Linked DNA regions of Homo sapiens: region 2 is linked to region 1. Evidence: promoter capture Hi-C in human tissues and cell types (Jung and others, 2019). All regions are on one chromosome and are shown on one strand. Each heading gives the region's core, a stretch centred on a gene start or on the middle of the fragment in contact. The rest is flanking DNA. Distances are from core to core; before and after follow the strand shown. Region 1 holds the start of SNRNP35 (small nuclear ribonucleoprotein U11/U12 subunit 35). Region 2 overlaps EIF2B1 (eukaryotic translation initiation factor 2B subunit alpha).

Region 1 (2,914 bases), core at 200-2,699:
CTTTTTAAGGAGAAATAGTATTCCATTGCATGTACTGTACATACCACGTGTGTGTGTGTGTGTGTGTGTGTGTGTGTGTGTGTGTGTGTGTGTGTGTGTTTAAAAGCATAGGGGTCAGCCAGGTGTGGTGGCTCACGCCTGTAATCCCAGCACTTTGGGAGGCCAAGGCAGGCAGATCACTTGAGATCGGGAGTTCAAGACCAGCCTGACCAACATGGAGAAACCCCATCTCTACTAAAAATACAAAATTAGCCGGGCATGGTGGCACATGCCTGTAATCCCAGCTACTCGGAAGGCTGTCAGGAGAATTGCTTGAACCTGGGAGGCGGAGGTTGCGGTCAGCCGAGATCGTGCCATTGCACTCCAATATGGGCAACAAGAGTGAAACTCTGTCTCAAACAAAACAAAACAAAAACAAACAAACAAACAACAACATAGGGGTCTTGCTCTGTTGCCCAGGCTGACAGGCTGAACTTGAACTCCTGGCCTCAAGCCTCACGACTCAGCCTCCCTAGTAGCTGAAACTGCAGATGGCCTCCACTGACAGTGGCTACCATATATTTTCAAACATAAAATTTTAAGCTATAGATTTTTCTTTTTTTTGAGACGGACTTTCACTCTTGTTGTTCAGGCTGGAGTGCAATGGCACCATCTCAGTTCATCGAAACCTCTGCCTCCCGGGTTCAAGTGATTCTCCTGCCTCAGCCTCCTGAGTGGCTGGGATTACAGGCACATGACACCATGTCCAGCTAATTTTGTATTTTTAGTAGAGAAGGGGTTTCTCCATGTTGCTCAGGCTGGTCTCGAACTCCGAACCTCAGGTGATCCGCCCGCCTCGGCCTCCCGAAGTGCTGGGATTACAGGCGTGAGGCATGCCACCTGGCCTTTTTTTTTTTTTTTTTTTTTATAAAGAAATTGGGGCCGGGCGCGATGGCTCACGCCTGTAATCCCAGCACTTTGGGAGGCCGAGGCGGGCGGATCACTTGAGGTCAGAAGTTCGAGACCAGCCTGGCCAACATGGCAAAACCCTGTCTCTACTAAAAATACAAAAAATAGCCGGGCGTGGTGGCGGGCGCCAGTAATCCCAGCTACGCGGGAGGCTGAGGCAGGAAAATCACTTGAACCCGGGAGGCGGAGGTTGCAGTGAGCCGAGTTCGCACCACTGCACTCCAGCCTGGGCGACAGAGGGAGTCTCCGTCTCAAGAAAAAATAATAAATAAGAATAAATAAATAATAAAGTAAAATGTCCCAGGTAACTGCATATTCGATAGTCTTTCTTTCAACTTAGTTGTTGAATTAGCAATTTTTCTCTTAAAAAAATTTTTTTTTAGCTTATTGTCTTCGGAGATGATAACACCCTCGTTGCGTGGGAGTAAAATTTTAAAGGTAAAACAAACAGGAAACGAGCGTCGGCGGCGAATCTGCTGCTACCAATGTAAAGGTCAGGCCGAGGCCGGCGCGGAGAATCTGCTGTCGCCTGCAGCTGCTCGCCTGTCTCCGTCGGAAGGGAGCCCAAGCTTTGCAGAGGTGAGTGGAAGCGGCTTGGAAGGAGCGGGCCCCACGCCGGAGAGAAGGAAGAGGGAGTGCGGCCCAGACGCTGTGCCCGCGCTTGTGTGGGGCGCCATGTTGAAACCTGGCAAAGGGGACGACATTCTGGGTTGCGTTGCGGGGAGTGGGGACGAGAGCTGGATTGGAAGGATGGCGCCTTACTCCCTGCGGCCCCCAGAGAAGGAGAGGGGCGGGGGAGCGGCCTCGAGGGTTGGCGGCCAGGCTGCAGGCTGGATGGGAAGGATAGGCTTTTCCACAGAAACTTAGGTGTTTGCCTCCGAGGCCCACTGCGCATGCCCTGGAGGGCTCTGTGGGTTCCGCCTTCAGTTTTGCTTTTCACAGGAGGGGCAAAGTCTTTTTTTTTTTTTTTTCCTTTTTGAGACAGTCTTGCTCTGTCGCCCGGGCTGGAGTGCAGTGGTGCGATCTCGGTTCACTGCAACCTCCGCCTCCTGGGTTCAAGCGATTCCACTGCCTCAGCTTCCCGAGTAGCTGAGACTACAGGCGCCCGCCACCACGCCCTGCTAATTTTTTGTATTTTACTGGAGACGGGGTTTCACCATGTTAGCCAGGATGGTCTCGATCTCCTGTCCTCGTGATCCACCCGCCTCGGCCTCCCAAAGTGCTGGGATTACAGCCGTCAGCCACCGTGCCCGGCCAGGAGGGGCAGAGTCTTACCCCGAAGACCCAGGAAGGAGAGGCTTCATTTATTTTTTTGTTTTTCCCCAGAGACAGGGAGTCGCCCAGGCTGGAGAGCGGTGGCGCGATCTCGGCTCACTGCAGCGTCGACATTTCGGGTCAAGCAGTCCTCCCGCCTCAGCCTCTCAAGTATCTGGGACCACAGGCGCGACCCCACGCCCGGAGAATTGATTATTGATTGATTGATTGAAACGGGGTCTCACTTTGTTGCCCAGGCTGGTCTCGAATTTCTGGGCTCAAGCGATCCTCCAGCCTCGGCCTCTCAAAGTGCTGGTATTACAGGCGTGAGCCAGCGCGTGCCTGGCCAAAAATTTTCTAAATTTGTATAATAATTTATAATTGTAATGCATTTTTATAGACACCATATGATCTAATCTTCACAAAAACCTAGTGAAGTGACATTTAGCTACATTTCACAATAAGAATCCTGAAGCTCAAAATTTACTGACCTCAAATAATCCACCCGCCTTGGCCTCCCAAAGTGCTGGGATTACAGGCATGAGCCACCGCGCCCTGGCCCCCACCATTCATTTCGGCTCTCATCCCCTGTTGATGAGTAAAATGAGAATGAGGCCCAGGCGCGGTGGTTCACGCCTGTAATCCCAGCACTTTGGGAGGCTGAGGCAGGCGGGTCATCTGACATCAGGAGTTTGAGACCAGCTTGGCCAAC
Region 2 (2,914 bases), core at 283-2,782, 160 kb after region 1:
GTGTTCTCTTGGTAGTTTTTACTGTTTGGCTTGATCCTGCTGAGGAATGTGCTTACCACTGGAAGCCAGATGCAGATTCAGCAAGTGTTTCTTGCCTCTTACAAGGCACCGCGTGTAACGTCCTGACCAGCTGTTGGTCATTTGTGGCAGAGGGGTGTGGCTGCTTTTCGCCTGCATCTCGCGTGCTTTAGGCAGATCAGTCTGGAGTGCAGGGGAGGATGAAGACAGGTGGACTTGGGCTCATCTTTCATCAGTTAAGTAGCCAATTATCTAACTTGTATTTCTGGAAACTGAAAAGGAAAGTTTCTAGAAACCGTAAGAACAATTTAAGTTGGGATTTAGAATAGCTGACACATTTTTAGATGGGACTGAAATGAGTAAGAAAGGTTCTCCAAGATGTATGATTTTAAGTCCTTACTCCATAAATCTTCATTAAACACATCTCAGTTTTGGCCTGACTCACTGGGGTGTCAAGCAGCTACTCACCCTGCCTCAACTACGTAAGCTGCACCTTGGCAGGAAAGGGCTCACAGGTTACAGATAGAGCTTGATGAGCTCATCGCTGACTGCTGAGGGTGTCAGCACGCCCAGGTCTGTAAACAGCAGAGTGATTAAGGAAGGGGCAGTGTAGTCGACCCACGGATGCTCCTCTTTGAGGTCTTGTCCAGTCTGCGCGACCTTGAGAGTGTCTGCCTTATACTGAGGAGAGAAGTACACATTAGTCGGCACTGAATATTTAGTGCTCTGACCTGGTAGGGCCTTGGTGTGAGTGATCAGTGTGCTACTTCCTGAGACTGCTCTCTGAAAATGGGAGAAACTAAGCTATGCAGGACACTAGAGACGAGGGCAGAGTTGTGGCCATGAGCCAGATCATGGCAGTGTGCTGGCTGAGAGCTGTAGTGTAACAAACTTAAATCCCATGTCCCCTCATTCTCATGCCGGATTAACTTCTCCAGACCTCTCAAGGGAAGATCGAGAGTCACAATAGAGAGCTTGCAGCGTGCCAGGGACTGTGCTAAGATTATCTTAGAATCCTCATGACCCTGTCAGATACTGCTATGCCATTTTACAGACAAGAAAACCGGTTCAGAGGTTGAAATGAAAGGACTTGCCTCAACTCGCACAGTTTGTAAGTTGTGGTGATGGGAGCTGAGCTCAGTTAAGCCCAAAGCTGGGACTTACCCACCAGCTTCGGGCTTCCTCTCCACCCATCTATGGTGCTACTTAAAGAGACTGAAAGACTGAAGTTCTAGGGACAAATGTGTGAGTCCAATCACCAATTTATCTTTGTATTCCAAGTGTTGGGGAAAGTAGCAATAGGAAGTGAAAAAATTACTGGAACATTCTTAGGACTACAATTTCCAAAGGTTTCTGTTTAGACTTTAGTACCCCTTCAAATATGTAAAACTCTTGCCTTAAACTTATCTGGGACGTCTTGCTGGTTTAGTGGAAAGAGCCGGACAAACTTGAAACTTTCTGCAACCACATAGAAAGGTTTGTTCTGTGCTTTGGCACACACAGCCATCTGGTTGGTTCCAATCTGGGAAGGCAGAAAATGGAATGGATGAGCTCTAGAGTGCATCTGAAGTAGAAGCCACAGAAAAGCGGGCCGGGCACAGTGGTGCATGCCTGTATTCCAGCATTTTGGGAGGCCGAGGTGGGTGGATCACCTGAACCCATGAGTTTGGGACCAGCCTAGGCAACACGGTGAGACCTCGTCTCAATTACAATAAAGGAACAATTAAAAAACAGCAATAGAAAGTTATGTATATAATATAGATATACATATATCTAATACATATATTAGATATATCTAATTCTGACTTTGGAATCAAAAAAATAAATGTTTCTCAAAGGATATAGAAACAGCCACTAGAGGCTGGATGTGGTGGCTCACGCCTGTAATCCCAGCACTTTGGGAGGCCGAGGTGGGTGGATCACCTGAGGTCAGGAGTTTGAGACCAGCTGGCCAATATAGGGAAACCCCATCTCTACTAAAAATACAAAAAATTAGCTGGGCATGGTGGGATGGGGGGTGCCTGTAATCCCAGCTACTAGGGAGGCTGAAGCAGGAGACTCGCTTGAACCCGGGCACTGGAGGTTGCAGTGAGCCAAGACTGTGCCATTGCACTCCAGCCTGGACAGCAAGAGTGAAACTCCATCTCAAAAAATAAAAAAATTTAAAAAAACAAGTGTTGGCAAGGATGTAGAGAAATTGGAACCTTTGTGCTTTGCTAGTGGGAATGTAAAGTAGTGCAGCTGCTGTGGAAAATCATTAGTTTCTGAAAGTTAAATATATAGTTACCATGTGACTCAACACTCTGCCTGCAGACCTCCGCCTCCCAGGTTCAAGCGATTCTCCTGCGTCAGCCTGCCAAGTAGCTGGGATTACAGGCACCCGCCACCATGCCCAGCTAATTTTTTGTATTTTTAGTAGATATGGGGTTTCACCATGTTGGCCAGGCTGGTCTCGAACTCCTGACCTCAGATGATCTACCTGCCTCAGCCTCCCAAAGTGCTGGGATTATAGGCGTGAGCTACTACGCCCGGCCTTATGTTACATATATTTTAACTAAAAAAAGCTTTCATGAAGCTTTTCTAAATTAAATAATGGAGAGAGAGATTGTAATAAATTGAGGTCAAATGTGCTCAATTAAAATGAAAACAAATGACAGGCCGGCCACAGTGGCTCATGCCTGTAATCCTAGCACTTTGGGAAGTGGAAAGATTGCTTCAGGCTAGGAGTTCAAGACTGCAGTAAGCTATGATCACTGTACTACACTACAGCCTGGGCAACAGAGTGAATGTGTCTCTATTTTAAAATATATATAATATTTATATATAAATACACGTATTTTATACATACATACTTTATATGTAAATATATAAATAATATTTTAAAAATATTTGTGTA

Evidence for each region. Contacts are between HindIII fragments. The study calls those that stand out against the background at their distance.
Region 2: a fragment that was not itself captured here is called in contact with the fragment with the promoter of SNRNP35 in region 1 in 2 of the 25 tissues and cell types used here (H1 embryonic stem cells and dorsolateral prefrontal cortex).

The regions. Positions count from the first base shown.
Region 1 is chr12:123,456,690-123,459,603 of GRCh38, forward strand. It overlaps SNRNP35 (small nuclear ribonucleoprotein U11/U12 subunit 35), which reads left to right and starts at 1,450. Exons shown (of 2, transcript NM_022717.4): 1 at 1,450-1,527. RefSeq lists enhancers at 1,137-2,003, 1,678-1,757, 2,004-2,869. The HindIII fragment of the contact is 15,518 bases long and covers 1-2,914 here.
Region 2 is chr12:123,621,222-123,624,135 of GRCh38, forward strand. EIF2B1 (eukaryotic translation initiation factor 2B subunit alpha) reads right to left here. Exons shown (of 9, transcript NM_001414.4): 8 at 1,415-1,540; 9 at 1-699. The coding sequence ends at 535. Among named protein-coding and RNA genes, the nearest start is that of SNORA9B, 6.0 kb to the left of the region's middle. RefSeq lists an enhancer at 156-1,355. The HindIII fragment of the contact is 7,939 bases long and covers 1-2,914 here.